Regions from separate parts of the Homo sapiens genome. Here all the other regions are linked to region 1. The links are contacts of gene promoters, found by promoter capture Hi-C in human tissues and cell types (Jung and others, 2019). All regions are on one chromosome and are shown on one strand. Each heading gives the region's core, a stretch centred on a gene start or on the middle of the fragment in contact. The rest is flanking DNA. Distances are from core to core; before and after follow the strand shown. Region 1 holds the start of GAD2 (glutamate decarboxylase 2). Region 2 overlaps LINC00836 (long intergenic non-protein coding RNA 836). Region 3 has its middle 75 kb from the start of MYO3A. Region 4 has its middle 110 kb from the start of LINC00836.

Region 1 (5,025 bases), core at 2,475-4,974:
GTCGTTGCATGGAATTGGAAGAAGGGTTCTGATCACGATGGGGCTCACCCCTTGTGTGGGTGCCCTTGGCTCCTGCACCCACAAGCCGGAGTCAAAAGACTCTGGGGAAATATTCGAGGAGTGAGTGAGGGCATGTGCAGAGGGCTCAGAGCGTTTGTTGCGCCGCTGGTCCACAGGGCATAGTAATCTCGCCAACTCAAAGAGTTGGCACCAAAAGGTCCCCAGAGCCAACTCGTGTAATCTCTTCATTTTACAGATGCAATGTGGCCAAGGGAAAACCTGCAGCTATGGCATGGCAGAGTCCAAGTGCCCTCCAGGCCTTCTTTTTCCCTGGGTTAGCGGCACAGTCTTGCTGGGGTTGCGACTGAAAGTAAGGAGTAACCCTCAGCTGTGCGAATGCACTGAGGAGCTGAGTATGGCCCAGTACCCAGGAAACCAGCACAGCAGGTCACCAGAGAGAGGGGCTTGGGAGGGGCAGGGGTGTCTAAAGCCCAAAGTGGCCTGGCCCCCTTCCACCTCTAGCTGCCTGTCCACTTGCCTCCAGAAGGCCTGGGTTTGTGGGGAGGGCGGAGCAGGGGCCAGGGGTAAGGAGCAGTAAGCTAAGCTCAGCTTTTCTGCCTGGCCACCCTTCAATCTAGGCGTCCTTCTTGGGTGGCCCCTGAAGACAAGAGCCCTGGCACTCAGCCCCTTCTGTTATTTCTGTTGGTGTAGGGAGAATTTATGGAGGGAGGCAACAGACTCCCTCCCTAAATTTTTCCTGCACCAATGTTTTAAGTGAGAATAGAAAAGAGAATGGCAAAGGCTTGGTGAATGCTTGGTTGCAATATTTTTGTGTTCTTCCGTGGTTGTTTCCTCTTTTTCTTTCCATCTTCCCTTCTTTCTCTGTCCTTTGACATTTAAGCACGGGAAGGACACAGGAAAATGTGTGCCAGACACTCTTCTTTGGGTCAGCCTGAGACCCATATGTTGGTAAACCAGACACCTAAGGAAACTGTCCCTACAAGTCGGAGGATTGGGTCTCTCGCCCCTCATCTGAGGAAGGGCCTTCCAAAGCGGCCGCCTTCCCTTCCCATTCACTGGCTGCCTCCTTTGTGAACTAATGACTGTAATTATTACCTCCCAGAGCTCTTTTGTTATCTCCAACCCCAAGCCCCGGAGAGGGGGAATGGGCTCTTTAGTGAAATGAAAGTCATTACAAAGCAAATTACCGTCTAGGGAGGGACAGCCTTCAGGAAAGACAAATCAGATCTCCATCTGCATCTGAAGTAGGGTGTGTTTAAATAAAAAATGTAAATATCACCATTAGATCCAAAGTACTCCAGAGCTGTGGGATTTAATGGAGTTTAAACGGTAGCACTTGAAGCCATTGCTTTACCAAAAAGAAAAAAAAATCAGTTAAATTCAGGTGTTTTAATCCGTTTCTTCTTTGGGGGTTTTGTGTGATTTAAACGCTTGCTTTTAAGAACCTTTATGTTTTCAACCACTCATCCATAGTAGAAAAGTTCTGCAACCCTAGACTGCTGGCTTGAAGGAAAACCTTTGCAGGATTTGATATGGATTTCAACAAAGAACCAGCCTCTGCGAGGCTGGAGAGAGCTGCGGAGCTGCCATGCCTGAAGTGCAGATGGCTGAACCACAAGTCTTTAGGTTTCCGGAGTTGTTATTGTGGTGACCTAGAGTGTCAGAGCCAGGAGAGCAAGAAAGAGGAGCCAAACTGAGCCCTGAGTTTTCGACCACCCGGGCTCCCACAGCCTGGAACAGACTTCACCTAGCACGCTCAGTGCCAGCCTTCGGCAGGACGCTATCAACGCCCGACTGGTTTCCTGCTCTCATCCTGGCGCCTGGGCCCAGTTGCCATAGTGTGGATCCCATGACTCCTCAGGGAACCCCTGGACTCAGGCACGCGAGAAGAAGACAGCGCTTTGTGGAGAGAATTGACCAGGGACAGTTATGCTCGAGCACACAGGACTTGGGCCTGTATGCGTCCAGCATGGGCCCCAGGATGTCCCTTCTAAGCGAGGGTCGAGGGGTGCTCGCCCAGACGGGATCCCCGGGTCTCTGCTTTGTTAGCAGCTTTGGTGGCTGGTTCAGGAGGTCAGAGAAATAAAACGACTTGTGAACACAATGGAAATGACAGGCGCTCTGGCCAGGCGCGGGGAAGGCAGCCGCCTCGGGAAGCCGACCTCAGCCCTTTCCTCTCTCTCCCTCCCTCCGTCTCCCCCAGAGCCCCGGAGCTCCGAGGTGCACTTGAAGTTCATCTCCACTGCCAGGAGAACGCAGCGCAAACTGTCAAAGGGCTCCCAATCCTTAGGGCGTCCTCCCTGTCTGCAATAGCTTTTTGTAGAAAGGAAATCATCAGAACGATTCTGACTTTCTCCTCCTTTCTTTATTAGAAAAAGAGAAACCGCCTCCTAATACGCCTCAGAGAGAACCAATCTCGCGCTTCCGGGTCACCCGCTACCGCGAAGATTCTCTGGGGGCGAGGGGGGGCATTGGTTTGAAGCCCCTTAAAACGAGGGCCCTGCAGGCGATGCCTTCTTTCCTACTCGGATTTGTAAAGCCGAGATTGCTTAGTTGGAAACCCTGTTCTCCCCTCCCAGGCGCACACAGATCCCCCTTACACGCAAGCAGCGGGCGCTTCCACGCCTCCGCGGGCCAAGGTCACCAAATGCCCTGATTCCATCCCCCACCCGCCATCAATCCTGCCGACTCTGGCCGCTCTGCCTCATTCTCTTCCAAGAAGTTTCCATTCGTTTTATTTTTTTTTCCCCAGCCCGAGGTCCTCAGTAGACTCCAGCGTGGATTTTAATTGCCTCAATCAGCAGTCATTCTCCCCAGCCGTCACTCAGAGCCTGGACGGTGGGTCCCGCGATCTAGCCCTTGGCTACGCAGGAACGGTGCGCCCCCGGGTACGGCGCGGTTCAGCAGGCAGGCGTCAGGTTCTACCAAGGCGCTGAAATGAGCCCATCAGCGGGTAGGAGCCCTTCCCCCGCCGTCCCCTCCCCAGGCTCGTGAACGGCGCCTGATGCCCGCCCGGGGCGCGAGCTCTCGAGGTCGCAGTGACCTCAGCACCTGCTTGGAGGAAAACGGCGCGGGAACCCCGCTTCCTTCCCCTCAGCTGGAGCCAGACCTCAAACAAAACCCCAATCGATGCACACAGAAAACTCCTCTGGGCCACGCTTCCCGCCTCGCCGAGGTCTCCCCAGTCTGCCCCTCGCTGACGCTGGCGCGCAGCGGCTGTGGCAGCACCCGGGACAGCGGCCGCCCGCACTTCCCGCCTCTGGCTCGCCCGAGGACGCGCTGGCACGCCTCCCACCCCCTCACTCTGACTCCAGCTGGCGTGCATGGTCTGCCTCGCATCCTCACGACTCAGCTCCCTCCCTCTCTCGTGTTTTTTTCCTCCGCCGCCCCCTCATTCATCCCCACTGGGCTCCCTTTCCCTCAAATGCTCTGGGGCTCTCCGCGCTTTCCTGAGTCCGGGCTCCGAGGACCCTTAGGTAGTCCCGGTCTCTTTTAAAGCTCCCCGGCTTCCAAAGGGTTGCCACGTCCCTAAACCCTGTCTCCAGCTCGCATACACACACGCACAGACACGCACGTTTTCTGTTCCTGCGTGACACCCGCCCTCGCCGCTCGGCCCCGCCGGTCCCCGCGCGGTGCCCTCCTCCCGCCACACGGGCACGCACGCGCGCGCAGGGCCAAGCCCGAGGCAGCTCGCCCGCAGCTCGCACTCGCAGGCGACCTGCTCCAGTCTCCAAAGCCGATGGCATCTCCGGGCTCTGGCTTTTGGTCTTTCGGGTCGGAAGATGGCTCTGGGGATTCCGAGAATCCCGGCACAGGTAGGAAGGAGAACGGGGGCCTGCGGCGGGCGAGTTTTGCGGTGGTCTGGGGTTTGCGGAACTACGGAGAAGACGAAGGAGGTTTTTCCACCTGCAACAGGAAACTTCTTCGGGCGCTTCTCCCTGCTTTTGGGCTAAGTCCTTGACGGCCCAAGAGCTCAAGACCTCTACAGCCTCTTGTACCCTGGGAAGACGCCCAAATAGTCTCAGGCCCGTTCCACAGAAGGTTGGAAGAGCCCCCCAAAGACCGCGGTGTCTCGGGGACATGGAATTCCGTGGTCCTGGGGCGCTGCTAAGATCCGGGTGTCTGGACCCTGGGGTGGGACGGAGTGACCGTGAAGATAGAAAAAAAAAATGGGAAAGGTGAGAGATTTCTTTATCTAGAAAGACAGTCTGCGAAAAAATGGATAGCTTCAGTGTTTAGGAAAACTCGTCCAAGGTAGGCAGGGAGAGGAATTTGCCTGAGCCGATTGGCACCTGGAAGGGCAGCGGTGTGGGCTTCTCCTCGGGAAACAGATAAAGGAAATGAGGGCTGGCCCGGGCCGCCAGCCTCCCGCTTGCCTTCTGCACCTGCCGGCCTCACCGAGTCCTGAGCGGCCCCCAGGAGGAAGGCGGCCCCTCCTAGGACCCCGGACTGATTGATTTTCACATAGAACGAAATTTCACACGTCCGTCTGTTGTTCTCTTTCTGCCTCGCTGTCTGCCTGCCTATTCTTCCTTGCAGCGCGAGCCTGGTGCCAAGTGGCTCAGAAGTTCACGGGCGGCATCGGAAACAAACTGTGCGGTGAGTGCCCAGGGACCGGGGCGGCCAAGGTCGGCCCGCGGGGTCCAAGCAGTCTTCTCACCTCCGCATCCCAGTCAGCGGAGTCGGGGTTTCCTGGCTGCGGGTAGGCGGGAGCGAGGGAGCCGGGCCCGGCGGAGGATTGACGAGGCCCGCGTTCGGTGTCCTTACCCAGCCCTGCTCTACGGAGACGCCGAGAAGCCGGCGGAGAGCGGCGGGAGCCAACCCCCGCGGGCCGCCGCCCGGAAGGCCGCCTGCGCCTGCGACCAGAAGCCCTGCAGCTGCTCCAAAGTGGATGTCAACTACGCGTTTCTCCATGCAACAGGTAAAGACTCAGCGGGGAGCCCCGGGGCGCCCCTGCCCCTCTCTCTGCCCCGCCCACCGCGGCCGGTGCGGGTCCGGCGCTGA
Region 2 (4,700 bases), core at 1,743-4,242, 490 kb before region 1:
GTCTTTATTAGCACCATGAAAATGGACTAATACACACCTTGTCCCACTCTTTCTTCTCTCCCTCCCTCCCTTTCTGTCTTCCTCCTTCACTCTCTCTCTTTCTTCCCTCTCACCCTCCCTCCCTTCCTTCCTTCACTTTGTTTATTTTTTGTTTCCTCACTTCTCTGGCATCTTCCGTGCTGGTTTCAGCCTCTGGAGTGTTGTAGAGGTGAAGAGGGAAAGCTTCCCCCTTCTCCCTCTGAAGGTCCACTGAAAATGAACTGACAAGAGGCCAATTAATAGGAAAAAACAGCATACAAATTTATTTTAACATGCATAGCACTGGGGAATCCCAGGAGAATGAATTCCCAATAACCCAATGAGGTCCAGATTCTTATATACTCTTCTTCAGAGGGGAAGAGGAGGTGAGAGTCTGTAGGAGAAAATGATTTTTAGGGAGGTCTGAAGGGACCCAGGAGGCAGATATTTATCTTGTAAATGATGCTCTTTAGAACTGAGAGGTAACAGAGAACAGATAACAGTTTGAGACAAAGTTCATTTGCATTCCAGGTATGGTGTTTAACTTCCCATCTCTTCCTCTGTGATGAGTTTTAATCTTCCCTGGTTAATGAAATTTCAGGGGACAGATGCAAGGGTTCCAATTGTGTTCTCTTTTGAAGCCTAGTTTCTAGGTTAACAAGGGGACTTCAGAGAACAGCCTCATCTTGTGTTTGGGAGAGAGAGATTGAACGGATTGGAGGGGAGGTTAGAGAGATCTTGACACTGCTTCTTTGGTTCCATTTCTAGCAAGTTTTCTGAGCCCCAACAGTATACACAAATACATGAAACCAGAGGTTGGCACTCTGGGAGAAATGACGCTGCCATGCAGTTTCTGGCCTGGCACCTCTAGTAATCTTCTTCACCTGGCTAAGTTTTTTTGTTTTGTTTTGTTTTGTTTTGTTTTGTTTTGTTTGAGATGAAGTCTCCTTCTGTCACCCAGGCTGGAGTGCAGTGGCGTGATCTAGGCTCACTGCAACCTCCACCTCCTGGATTCAAGCAATTCTCATGCCTCAGCCTCCCAAGTGGCTGGGATTACAGGCACGTGCCACCATAATAGAGATGGGATTTCACCATGTTGGCCAGTCTCGAACTCCTGTCCTCAGGTGATCCGCCCACCTCGGCCTCCTAAAGTGCTGGGATTACAGGCATGAGCCACTGCACCTGGCCTTCACCTGGCTTAGTTTTGCATAGCCTACAGAACAGGAGGCTGCTTCTTCCTTGGTCCCTGACCTCTTGCTCCTTGATGTTGTCCGGGGGTGCAAGGATCATTCCCCCAGTCACTTGCACATGGGAAGAGAGCAAAATCAGGGGCCAGCTGTAGTTAAGACAAAGGGAATCCAGGACTGAGCGTCCCCACCCTCTGGGTGGTACTCTATCACCCAACAAGTACATTACCTAACAAACTCTAGGTCTCAGTTTCTTTATCTATAAAAGAGGATAATAATTTTACCTACCTCATTTTTTTAATATAAAATGGATAAAGTACTTAAAACAATACCTGAGACATGGTATGTGGTCAATGAATGTTAGTGCTAATAACACTGATGATTATTACTATTATAAACACAGCAAACATAAAGTTAAAAGAGAGTTAAGATTACCAAGGAGCAGATGAAATGACTGATAGTTGCTTATTGTTGTGGTGGTGGTTTTGTTTTGTTTTTCAGACAAAATTTTGCTCTGTTGCCCAGGCTGGAGTGCAGTGGCACAATCATAGCTCACTGCAGCCTCAACCTCCTGGGCTAAAGTGATACTCCCAGCTCAGCCTCCTGAGTAGCTGGGACTACAAGCGCATGCTGCTATGCCTGTTAATTTTTGTATTTTTTGTAGAGATGGGGCTTCACTCTGTTTCCCAGGCTGGTCTCTAACTCCTGAGCTCAAGGGATCCACCCATCTTGGCCCCACAAAGTGCTGGAATCACAGGCATGAGCCACTGCACCTGGCTAGTTGTTTTTTTTATTTCGAAGCTTTACCTTAAAAATCTCTTTGGACTGAGAAGTAGGGCTTTTCCATGGTTGAAAGTCCAAATGTTTGGTAACAGAGTAGGATGGCTGTAGTTAGCAACGGTGTATTGTATATTTCAGAGTAGCTAGAAGAGAGAACTTGAAATGTCCCCCCACACATATGAATGATAAATACTCAAGGTGATGGGTACCCCAAATACCGTGACCTCATCATTTCACATTCTATGCATGAAGCAAATATCACATGTACTCCGTACATACGTAAAAATATTATGTATCAATTGTTGCCCTGCCTTTACCAGGTCAAAACACAGACTGAAAGCAGCATCCAGACATTCTTAATGACTCCTAGCAATCTTCCTTGGGCTGTGGATGAGGAAAGGGGACCCAGAAAGATACATACCATAAATATTTGCAGGATTCTTAGAGACTAGTAAATAAATTCAGGATTGTTACCTAGAGAGAGATGCATTTAGAGTTTGAGGCTTTAATCTCATAAAAATAACAGATTGAGGCATCCAAAAATTAAACCCGTGCCGTGGAGGAACAGGGCTGTGCCATAGAGGGTGTTTAGAGACCAGCAGAGTAGTCTACCCTTTGTTTTATTTCAGAATGTCACATCTAAAACAGTAAAGATCCTGCCGTCTTGCTCCCAGATGATATGTAATTGTTCGAAAATAAGAATAATTTTTCATCATGGAAAGATATCCTACTCAGGTGGGAGGAAATGGCTCTTCTTTCTGGAAGGAGGAGTTACAGCAAATAAAGAAATCATGTGGTACATATACACCACGGAATACTATGCAGCCATAGAAAGGAATGAGATCATGTCCTTTGCAGGGACATGGATGAAATGGGAAGCCATTATCCTCAGCAAACTAACACAGGAACAGAAAACCAACACCACATGTTCTCACTCATAAACGGGAGCTGAAAAATGAGAACACATGGACACAGGGAGGGGAACAACACACACCAGGGCCTGGTGGTGAGGTGGGAGGATGGAGAGCATCAGGATAAACAGCTAATGCATGCTGGGCTTAATACTTAGGGGATGGGTTGATAGGTTTAGCAAACCACCATGACACACATTTACCTATGAAACAAACCTGGACATCCTGCACATGTGTCCTGGAACTTAAAATAAAATAAAATGTTTTTAAAAAGGAAGTCATGGCCTTGTTACCTTCCAGATCAAGAAGAAAGGTAAACTTAAAATATTTTAACCATGTGACACCTTACTTTGTCATCAGCTGTGGTTATACATAGAGCTTCTTAAGTAGCATTCCCGATTATTATGAGAGATTTTTTTGTAAGATGTAGGAGTACAGGCACAGAAAGGGAGACAGTTTGGGTTGTTTTTATCACGTAAGAAACCTGTTCAGAAATCAGAACTAATATTCCAGGCAGCCACACTTTATTATTTCTGAAAATTACTTTCCTTGCTTAAGGCTTTCTTGTCAGACTTTCAGAAATCACAGACTTAAGTTTCTCTAAGATGTCCTGCTATGCTCCTAAAGCCTGAGGACTTCATTAATGGCTCTCCCAGGTTTGCAACAACTTCTTCTTAAATCTCCTGGAGAGTGCACGCTCCTGAACATACACAACGTGTCCAAAGATTTTGACACTAAGAGTCACCTCTTTTAAAAAAAAAAGAAAAGAAAAACAAAACAAACAACAACAAAAACAAGCAACAAAAAAGAAAGCTTGTTTTGACTTTTTTGAGACCACATTCTTCTAGTTTTTTTACAACTTCTTTTAAGGTGCTGCTGAAGCGGCTTCCTTGTCTGGGGTGATACCCGAGATTCGTTGTCTCAAGGCCACGGAAAACTAGCACGTGAACACACAAAGAGTGAGCTTCAGAGTAGAAATTTAATAGGCGAAAAAAACAGAAGAGCTCTCTGCTGCAGAGAAGGGTCCCAAGAAAATGGGTTGCCAGTTCCAAGGTGAAAAGGGTTTTATAGATGAGCCTGTAGAGGCGATGTCTGATTTAGATAGGGCACAAAAGATTGGTTGGACCAGGTATGCCATTTGCATAGGGTGAGAAAAACTGGTTAGGGCTGGGTGTGTCATTAGCAGAGGGCATGAAAAGCTGTCTGCGCTCACCCTAATCTTTTACTATGCAGATGGGTTCTCTATCTGGCCAGCGCCATGTTGCCCATCTCTTTATTGCACATGTGGTAACAAAAAAGGGAAGATGGAACCTCCATGTTGGATATGCCTGGCCACCAGGTAGCCCTCTTCTATTGGCACAGCTGCCGGCATTCTCCCGTGCAGGCTTCCAGCTTGCTTATCTATGTTTGCAGCTTGATTTTTCAGGCTGCTCTTTGTTGGAAAAAAATAATTTCTTGGGCTGCTTTTTGTTAACAGGGAAGCCTTGCCGAGGACTCTTTTATCTTCACTATCTGCCTAAATAATTTTTTTCCATCTCCTGCATCACTGTTTCTCAATTTGCTATACGAACCATTGTTTCCAGTAAGGTTGCAGAATTTGGGGTAAGGAAGATTCTGTTATCAGCTCTTTATTTACACCATGCAATCGCCAGTCCAGCCCTGCCCCTACTGTCCGGGCAATCACTGTTCTGATATTTTCCTACTGTAGATTGGTTTGGGCTATTGTAGAATGCCATGGAAATAGAAACGTGTAGTGTGTACTTTTTCAGTAATAACCTGCAGGTAACAAATACTCTATTTCTAT
Region 3 (5,184 bases), core at 1,412-3,911, 360 kb before region 1:
ATGATGCTTTCCAGCTTCATCCATGTCCCTACAAAAGATATTATGTCATCCTTTCTTATGGCTGCATAGTATTCCATGGTGTATATGTGCCACATTTTCTTAATCCAGTCTATCATTGATGGACATTTGGGTTGGTTCCAAGTCTTTGCTATTGTGAATAGTGCCGCAATAAACATACATGTGCATATGTCTTTATAGCAGCATGATTTATAATCCTTTGGGTATATACCCAGTAATGGGATGGCTGGGTCAAATGGTATTTCTAGTTCTAGATCCTTGAGGAATCGCCACCCTGTCTTGCCCAATCTTTGCACTAGTTTACAGTCTCACCAACAGTGTAAAAGTGAAAACAGAACATTTAAACAGGAATTTTCATCAATAATACAGTACAAACTTTGACAGTTTGTTCAAAAGGGATAGGAAAAAGACAAGAGTGAAAATGAATAGAAAGAATATAACATCTATGTAGTGCAAAGATATAGATTCAAACTAATAATATTCTTGGCTGCATAAATGCTTCAGAACTGAGGGAAAATATCAATATATAGATTCAGGAAGAATCATTATAATGGAACTGCTAAACACCAAAGACAGAGAAAGATCATAAAGGGATCACGGAGTAAAAATATCAACTTCAAGGTAATACAAAAATTAGATTGATAGCTGACTTCTCCAAAGCAACACTGGATGGCAGAATTCAGCAAATAAAAATTATCCTCAAATTACTTACCACACCAAACCAAAGCAAACAGAAAACAATTAATCAAGAATTGTATTCTCCATAAAAATATCTTTTTAACAACAAAGTTAAAATAAAAATATTTTTAAGATAAATAGAAACAGGCCGGCTGCGGTGGGTCATGCCTGTAATCCCAGCACTTTGGGAGGCCAAGGTGGGTGGATTACGAGGTCAGGAGTTCGAGACCAGCCTGACCAACATGGTGAAACCTGGTCTCTACTAAAAATGCAGAAAAATTAGTCAGGTATGGTGGCATGTGTCTGTAATCCCAGCTACTTGGGAGGCTGAGGCAGAGGAATTGCTTGAACCAGGGAGGTGGAGGTTGCAGTGAGTTGAGATCGTGCCTCTGCACTTCAGCCTGGGAGACAGAGTGTGACTCTGTCTCAGAAAAAAAAAAAAAAAAAAAGATAAATGGAAACAGAGTTTCCAAACTACATATACCCCAAATAATTTAAATAGGATATATTTTGAGGTGTGTATGTAGATAAATCTAAACAAACACTGGAATGATAAAACAACAATAATAACTTAATCTGTGAGGTTACAGATAATTAAAACAAGATAGAGATAAGATACAGAACAACCACAAATATTAACTGGGAGGAATATGGTTGAAGTTATAACATTCCAAGAGCACTTACGTTATATGAGAAGAGATACTGAATACATGAGTCTTTGGTAAATACGAAGGCTAAAATTCCAAGGGTAGTCACTCAAAGAATATAGCTCTTTCAAACCAGTGTGAAGAAAAGAAAATGAAATAAGGAAAACAAAAAGCAAATAAACAAAAGAAATGATAAAATTGTATTTCAAGACGTTAAGGAAGACTTAAGTAAGTGAAGAGATCAATGCTATCTAGGGCTTCGTTTCACACACTATTCTATATCTAATATACACAGTACTTGGCCTCTAGAAGATGCTCAATAAGTGTTTGTGGAAGGGAATATGAATAAATGAATTGATGATCTAATACATATAGGACAAAATATTATACAGATATCAACTGGAGGCGATTTTGTATATGAAATAGGAGCTATAAGTTCAAAACTTCCTATTATAATTCAATTAAAAATAAACAAGAACTGTAACATAAGCATTTTTAAAACAATGCAGAATTGAAGCTTTTTTCTTGACAATGGCATGTTAGGTGTTTTCTAATTTTTACCTTTTACATACCATGCTGCAACTTTCTTTCTTGTACATTTAACAATGCACACTTCTCTTAGTATATCTTGTAGGGTATGTGCTCGTTCTAATGGGTGAATCCGTGATTGTGAGCATTTCATATTCCATAGACAAAATACTCTGTTATTGTACTAACACCCTAGCAATTGTGCAAAATATTTCCTATTTTCTTAGTTTCTTGCCAGAATGGATGTTACCAAACATCTTAACTTTACCCCTCTATTTAAAAAAAAATTGCTATTCCATTGTAAATGTATTTGGTGTTTTAATATTGTAAGGTTGAAAATTGTTGCACAGGGATAACCTAAATGAAATGGCTATTCCTAGAAACACACAACCAACCAAGACTGAATCATAAACAAACAGAAAATCTGAGCAGATGTATAATTAGCTAGGAGATTGAATCAGCAATCAAAAACCTCCCAACAAAGAAAAGCTCAGGACCAGATGGCTTCATTGGTGAAGTCTATGGAAAATATAAAGAATTAACAACAATCCTCTTCAATCTCTTCCAAAAAAATGAAAAAGGAGGAAACATTTCCAATTGTATTCTATGAAACCAGCATTACCCTGATACCAAAGCTAGAGAAAGGCACTGCAAGAAAAGAAAACTACAGACCAATATTCTTTATAAATATTGACACAGAAATCCTCAACAAAATACTACCAAACCAAAATCAACAGCATATTGAAAGTGTTATACACCATGACCAAGTGGGATTTATTCTTGAAATACAAGTTCAATATATGAAAAGCAATCAGTATAATACAGCACTTTAAAAAAAGAAAGGATAAAAATCACATGATTATTTCAATAGATACAGAAAAGCATTTGATGAAATTCAACACTCTTCTATGACAAAAACACTAAACAAATTAGCTATAGAGGGCCAGCTATGAAAAGCCCACATCTAACATCATATACAACAGCCAAAGACAAGGCTTTTCCTTTAAGATTAGGTGTAAAACAAGGATGTCTACCTGCCACTTCTATTTAATATGATACTGGAAGTCCTAGCCAGAGCAATTAGACAAGAAAAGGACATAAAAGTAATAAAAATTGAAAATAAAGAAGTAAAATTATCTCCGTTCAAAGCTGACATGATCTCACATGTAGGAAACCATAAAAATTCCACCAAAAAAGAAACTGTTTGAAAGAATAAATAACGTCAGTAGAGTATACAAACTCTACTTGCAAAAATTGGTTACATTTCTGTACATTAACAGTGAAAAAATTTGAAAAGGAAATTAAGAAAATAATTCAATTTACAATAGCGTTAGAAATAATGAAATACTAGGAATAAACTTAACCAAGGAGAAGAAAAGTCTTGTACACTGAAAACTACTAAACATTGCTGAGGCCAAGCATGGTGGTCTATACCTGTAATCCCAGTACTTTGGGAGGCCACAGCAAGAGAATCGCTTGAGTTCGGGAGTTTGAGACCAAACATTACTGAAAGAAATTAAAGAAGACACAAATAAATGGGAAGATATTATGTGCTTATGGGCTGTAGGCTTAATATTAAGCTGTCAATACTACCCAGAGTAATCTACCAATTTAATGTAATCACCATCACAATACTAATCGCATTTTTTGCAGAAATGAAAAAATCCATTTTAAAGTTTATATGGAATCTCAGAAGATCCTAAATAGCCAAAATATCCTTGAAAAAAATGTTGTGTGAGATCTCAATCTCCTGGTTTCAAAACTTATTACAATGCTACAGCAATCAAAGCAGTGTCATACTAGTGTAAAGGAAGACATTTAGACCAAAAGAATAGAATAAAGAGCTCAGAAGCCAACCTTCACATATATGATCAAATAATTTTTGACCAGGGTACCAATACTATTAAATGGGGGGAAAGGGGAGTGTTTTAAACAAATAGTGCTGGGAAAACCAGATATTCACATGCAAGAGAATGAAATTGGACCCTTACCTTACACCATATACAAAAATTTACTCAAAATAAGTCAAAAGCATATACAAGAGCTAAAACTATAAACTCTTAGAAGAAAACACAGGATAAAAGTTTATGAAGTTGGGTTTGCAATGACTTTTTTTTAAAGTTGGGTTTGCAATGACTTTTTTTTTTTCTAAGTGAAAGCAAGTTTATTAAGTAAAGGAATAAAGAATGGCCACTCTATAGACAGAGCAGCCTGAAAAGACTTTTTGGATATGATGCAAAAGCACAGACAACAAAGTAAAAATAGATAAATTGAACTATATCACAGGTATGTTTCAGTCTATTTTTTGACTCATGATTCTATTCTATGGAACTTTTTATATATTTTTACTACACTAGAGCTTTATAAAGAGTTTCTAGCTGTTATATCAAGATAGTCTTTGTTATACTTGGCTGTCCTTATGTAAATACAATTTCAGATGACTGATAATATGCAAAAGAAGAAAAAACTTAAGGAATGTATTACATTTATTGTTAAATTAGTGTAAATATCTTTACAATAATGAGTCTTCCCATTTAAGGACATAGTCAAGTGGTCTTTAAAATATTATTCCTAAAATCATATTTTTCTTCACATAATTCTACTCATTTCTTGTTAGGTTTGTTTCTAAGCATTTTATAGGTTATTGCCATTGGAATTTTTTTTTCCAAATAAATTTGCCTATTAGTTATTTCTTTCATCTAGATTCTACTGATTTTTAAAATTTTTTTACTTAAATTTTTTATGTAGATTTATTAAATTTCAGAGAAAACATTAAAAACTGGATGAAAGAAAATAAATATATAGTAAAAAATTTTTAGATTTGAAGAAAGACACACATTTTCAGGTTGAAAAGTCTCACCAAATGCTGAGTAGAGTTTTGTTTTTTTTTTTAATACCTATACCCAGAATCATCCTGGATAAGAGATTGCTAAAAGTTCCAGGATAAAATAAAGAAATCTCAGCCAGAAACAAGCATCATCTGACTTCATGATTCTCATTACCAAGAATGGGGCTGGAGGATGATGGAGAATGGCTTCAGTCTTCTAAGTGAAAGTGACTATGAGTCACTTGTAACCAAGTGAGAGGGCCAAATACAGACATTTTCTGACAGGTCAACTTTGAAAAAGTTCACCTCCACTGTACCCAGGGATACAATGAAAATAAATTATAAGACTTTGGGCTAAAGATGCCTATTGTATACCTCTTCTTCCTGCCAGGATCAATTAAAAAGTTAGTGCAGATATTTTAAATGTACAAACTCACAATGATGATGAGAATAGGTAAGAGATTATCAATAGGCCATAGATTTAAA
Region 4 (5,046 bases), core at 730-3,229, 460 kb before region 1:
ACCAATTCCGGATACACAAGCAATGCTGATTGCTTCACTTTGAAAGCTTTCCAGCCGGGTGCGGTGGCTCACACCTATAATCCCAGTACTTTCGGAGTCCGAGGCGGGCTGATCACTTCAGGTCGGTAGTTCGAGACCAGCCTGGCCCACATGGTAAAACCCCGTCCCGTCTCTACTAAAAATACAAAATTAGCCGGGCGTGGTGACAGGCACCTGTAATCCCAGTTACTCGGGAGGCTGAGGTAGGAGAATTGCTTGAGCCTGGGAGGCAGAAGTTGCAGTGAGCCAATATCGAGCCACTGCACTCCAGCCTGGGTGACACAGCAAGACTCTTTCTCAAAAACAAAACAAAACAAAACTTAAAAACTTTCTTTTTTTAAGTGTGAACATCCTCAAACCACACATCCTTGGAAAACCCCATGGGATCACTTCTACTCTCATGATGGTTGTCTTCTCTAGCATCTTGTGGTTACAAAGCATTTCAGGTAAGAGCACAGGCTTTCTGGCCAGGAAGACTTGAGGTGAGTCCCAGCTCTGTCATGTCATAGGTAGGTGACCTAGCTCTTAGCTATTAGGTTGGTGCCATTACTTTTAATGGCAAGAACTGCAATTACTTTTGCACCAGACTGAAAGCCTCTGTTTCATTCAAGAAAAAAGGAGACATTACACTGTTTCTTTCTTCATAGGGTTATTGTGCAGATTGAATGAGATAACGAATACAAAGGATTTAGCACATGCCTTAAAAATGTGTATTAGGTTATATTTTTTAAATGTCAGCTATACAAGTTAGATTACCATTATTTTAACAGTTCGTCTAATTCATTCTTGTGACATCTATTAGTTGTTTTTTATTTAGCCTTTCAGCCACTCTTGTCTCTCTGACTTGTTTGAAAGCCTTTAAAGCTTGGATCGTGTTTTGTTCCTTTGTATCCTCTTACACATAGCACAGGTTTTCCAAAAATATTTGTTGAGTTGATTTCATTTCATAATGTGTTCTCTTTAAATAGCAACCAGAAGCACAATTCAAAATAAACTGTAGATTTTGATAATGAATTTCTTTTCTTGTGATTAGTGGCTCTTTGTCTTGCTTTTGTCCTGAGCCTATGTTTTGAGATAACACTTGGGGGCAGCATTGAGTCAGTCTGCACTTCCCCTGTTGTGAACTAGAAGGAAATATGAAATCCAAAGGTAGGGGCTGACAGATAGGAAATGAATGTCTCCAAATACATCAGTAGCTTTAAAATGACTGTGCACTTTGCTACAGAAATCTATTTAAAAGCAGCACACCCTTCTGCAGATCTCAGGGGAGCTCTTGAGGATAAATGACTTGTTTTCTCTCTAACCCTGGGGGGCAATACAAACTGTAAGATGTTTAACCATTTACTCACACAGCAAAATGGAGCAAACCTACAAGCTACATTATAAAGGAAGATAAATTTAGCATGCATTTATGATGTGAAAAAGCACAGCTACTGCTCTGGTTGTTTAAATACTACATCAGTAATTGCAGTCCATTAAGTCAGTTAAACAAAACAGTGAATTAAAATTTTCCATTAGCCAGATTTTTTGCCCTACAACACTAAAGAGAAGAAAGGTAAATGTAGTAGCACAGCAAGTTGATAGCAGAGGTTCATTTGGTTAAGCAACTTTTTAAAACGTCCTATGCCCTGCACAGATGTTATCCAGTCTCCTATAGCCACAATTACATCACTACAAATATATGCTTAGATAATCTATCAATGTTCAGAATCTTTGCCTCTAGGTACTGCAAGATTCTTACCAGTTATAATAAAACTAGTGTGCCAATTATCTGATAAAACAAAGTACACTTGGTTGTTTCCAAAAAAAATTTTTGTAATGGTACAAAAAAAACTCATAGAAGACACTTTTTTTTTTTTTTTTTTAGCAACTTGGCCCTGTCTCTACCTCTCACCAGAATCTGAAGAAATTGCATATATTTTTGTACCAACAGGGTTCCTATGAAAACCAAATGGAAAAGTACAATAGGATACACCAGTTTCTTCACAGGTCCACAACCTAATTTGTGTTATACCTATTCCCTGATTAGTTACAGAGGTATTTATTCTTTATTTGTTCATTCAACATTCACTGAACATCCAATATGTGTCCAGTACTGGGAATATAAGGATGAATAACACATTATCTATGTTTTTAAAAAGTTCAGTCTAGGAGAAATGAACATACAGACATACACACATCTGCAAATAATTGCAATCACACTGATTTCTTTTGGGCCTGGAATCTCTTATTCTTTTCATAGCTAAACAAAATAACATCTCAGAGTGTAATCTCAAAGAACATAAATCTCTACTTTATGGAAGAGGAAAGTGAAGTCCACAGACAGTAAAGGACATGACCAACCAGCCAGTTAGTGCAAAGCCAATAAAGGAACTTGTTGACTCCCAACCGATGTGTTTCCACCACATAATATTATTACCCTTTTATATGGTTTGGCTGTGTCTACCCAAATCTCATCTTGAATTGTAGATCCCATAATGCCCATGTTGAGGGAGGGACCTGGTGGGAGGTAATTGAATAATGGGGGAGAGTCTCGTGATAGTGAATAAGTCTCACAAGATCTGATGTTTTTATAAAGGAGAGTTCCTCTACACACGTTCTTTTGCCTGCCACCATGTAAAGATGTGCCTTTGCTCCTCCTTTGCTTTCCGCCATGATTGTGAGGCCTCCCCAGCCATGTGGAACTCTGAGTCAATTAAAACTCATTCCTTTATAAATTACCCAGTCTCAGGTATGTCTTTATTAGCAGCATGAGAACAGACTAATATACCCCTGCATGTGAGATTGTTGAGATAAGGCATTATAGCTTGTATGTCCTTGTATTTTCGAAGTCTCTAGTAGAAATCTTTAATAAACATTTATTTATTGACTTTAATATCTCTCCTGCTGTCATCTGTCCAGATATAAATCTCACCATTATGAAAGCTTTCATAAGGCAGCTAACTTTTAAATTGTTTAGTCTTTGAGATTATTCTCAGTTGACCAAAGCAGACATTTTCCTTTCACTAATGCTCAATTTCCCAAGGCTTGGCCTTGGGAATTGATTGAGGACAGGCTAATAATGGGCATTCACATATGAGTGCATCTGAATTCGACCTTGCATTACCTTTCATACTTTTCCACCTACTTCCAACCAACAAGATCTCTCTATTTATATTCTGGGGATTTAACATTTAAGGCCAAATCACAAAAAGCCTGTTGGGTAGTTTGTGCTTCTGCATATCTAGTAGTATGCTGGAAAATATTTAATAATAGATCTAGGAGAGGAAAAAAAGGCCTGATAAATAGCATTTGCCAATTTCCATGGTGTAAATACTTTCACCATGGTAAATTTCATCCTACCAATGTATCAGTGCATACTGAACTCAGCACAGAGAAGAAATATACACAATCTGCTCTCACTAATCAGTGCAAGCCAGCTCCAGCTAACAACTGCCCCACTGCTCTCAACATGAAGACTCAGCAGTGATCTGTCCTCACTTCTGCTGCCTGACGCTCTTGTCATTGCTTAGCTATATGAGAGACTGCTAGGTTCGGCTTGTAGGGTTGGTAAGTGCAATCAGCAATAGGCCTGATTGTAAGACAGATTTTGAACTTGGTAGGAATATAGGGGGAGAATCAGTTATTAAACTAAATTAACCCTTTTCCTGTTTGCTCTGGGAATACTTGCCGGCGGGCTTTCAGCTGCAGTGTTTACCCCAAGATAACTTTGCCACAAAATATCTCACTTTTATTATTATTTTTGCATCACTCTGGTATATCGACTTGAGAAGCAAAAGACATCATTCTATTTATAGCATTCTGTTTTTAGTAGTAGTATTTCCATTTACAAAACACAGTAATTCTCAACCACTGAAAATGTCAAATCCTAGAAAATGTAGCATTCCTACACATGATGTTAACATCATTCTCTAACAGTTGGCTGAAGATTCATTTGATGAATCCGATTTTTCCAAAATAGATGATTCTAATGATTCAGATGATTCTGATGTTAGTTCTGTTTAGAAATAACTCCAAGAACAGTTTTTATATTTCATTTTCACATTGAAAATGAGTCAGATTTGCTTCAGCCTCAAAGAGGGCGTTTACGTAAAATTAAATGAATGCTGATAGCAAGCTGCATTTTTTTTATGGGAAAAGATTTAACTTATGAAATTAATGAAGATATAAGAGAAAGGAGGCAACTAACTACACTCACCTGATAATTATTATTGTTTTGACATACAGGTATCGCTGATACCCTTTGTGTGAAAACAATCGAGAAAGTGCTGGCTGAAATTACAGATGGAGGCTGGACTCTAAAAACCAACAGATGCCTCAAGGGTTTGAATCTGCAGCTTTAGCTAATCAGACCGGGCTACAGTGTTGAAATTCAAGAGGCAAAGAGAAGAACAGCAAAAGGGATAGTGAGAAAGACTTGAGGGTAGAGACGCAATGTTTGAGCAGCAAATTTATTTACATGTTTGCTCAGCCAGTCAGCCAATGGGTGTTTATGCACCCTCCAAATCCCTATGCTGAAGTCCTAACTCCCAATGTGATTGTTACAGGAAAGTGGTCCCTATACAGACTCCAAGAGAGGGTTCTTCGATCTTGTGCAAGAAAGAAGTCAGTGTGAGTCCATAGAGTAAAGTGAATGCAAGTTTATTAGGAAAGTAAAGGAGAAAAGAATGGCTACTCCATAGACAGAGCAGCCCCAAGGGCTGCTGATTGCCCATTTTTATGGTTATTTCTTGATGATATGCTAAACAAGGGGTGGATTATTCATGCCTCCCCTTTTTAGACCATATACAGTAACTTCCTGACGTTATCATGGCATTTGTAAACTGTCATGGCGCTGGTGGGAGTGTAGCAGTGAGGACAACTAGAGGTCACTCTCATCACCGTCTTGGTTTTGGTGGATTTTGGCTGGCCTCTTTACTGCGACCTGTTTTATCAGCAAGGTCTTTATGACCTGTGTCTTATGCGGACTTAGGCAGACTTCCTATCTCATCCTGTGACTTAGAATGC

What was found. Contacts are between HindIII fragments. The study calls those that stand out against the background at their distance.
Region 2: a fragment that was not itself captured here is called in contact with the fragment with the promoter of GAD2 in region 1 in 2 of the 25 tissues and cell types used here (H1 embryonic stem cells and mesendoderm cells).
Region 3: a fragment that was not itself captured here is called in contact with the fragment with the promoter of GAD2 in region 1 in 1 of the 25 tissues and cell types used here (H1 embryonic stem cells).
Region 4: a contact is called between a fragment that was not itself captured here and the fragment with the promoter of GAD2 in region 1, in 4 of the 25 tissues and cell types used here (H1 embryonic stem cells, dorsolateral prefrontal cortex, heart right ventricle and 1 more).

Annotation. Positions count from the first base shown.
Region 1 is chr10:26,213,050-26,218,074 of GRCh38, forward strand. It overlaps GAD2 (glutamate decarboxylase 2), which reads left to right and starts at 3,725. Exons shown (of 16, transcript NM_001134366.2): 1 at 3,725-3,836; 2 at 4,561-4,620; 3 at 4,793-4,942. The coding sequence starts at 3,761. RefSeq lists enhancers at 739-1,306, 1,307-1,872, 1,873-2,439. The HindIII fragment of the contact is 8,096 bases long and covers 1-5,025 here.
Region 2 is chr10:25,726,908-25,731,607 of GRCh38, forward strand. The region is part of intron 2 of LINC00836 (long intergenic non-protein coding RNA 836); the gene reads left to right. Among named protein-coding and RNA genes, the nearest start is that of LINC00836, 78 kb to the left of the region's middle. The HindIII fragment of the contact is 3,757 bases long and covers 1,115-4,700 here.
Region 3 is chr10:25,856,898-25,862,081 of GRCh38, forward strand. No RefSeq gene overlaps it. Among named protein-coding and RNA genes, the nearest start is that of MYO3A, 75 kb to the right of the region's middle. The HindIII fragment of the contact is 4,703 bases long and covers 311-5,013 here.
Region 4 is chr10:25,757,005-25,762,050 of GRCh38, forward strand. No RefSeq gene overlaps it. Among named protein-coding and RNA genes, the nearest start is that of LINC00836, 110 kb to the left of the region's middle. The HindIII fragment of the contact is 4,242 bases long and covers 1-4,100 here.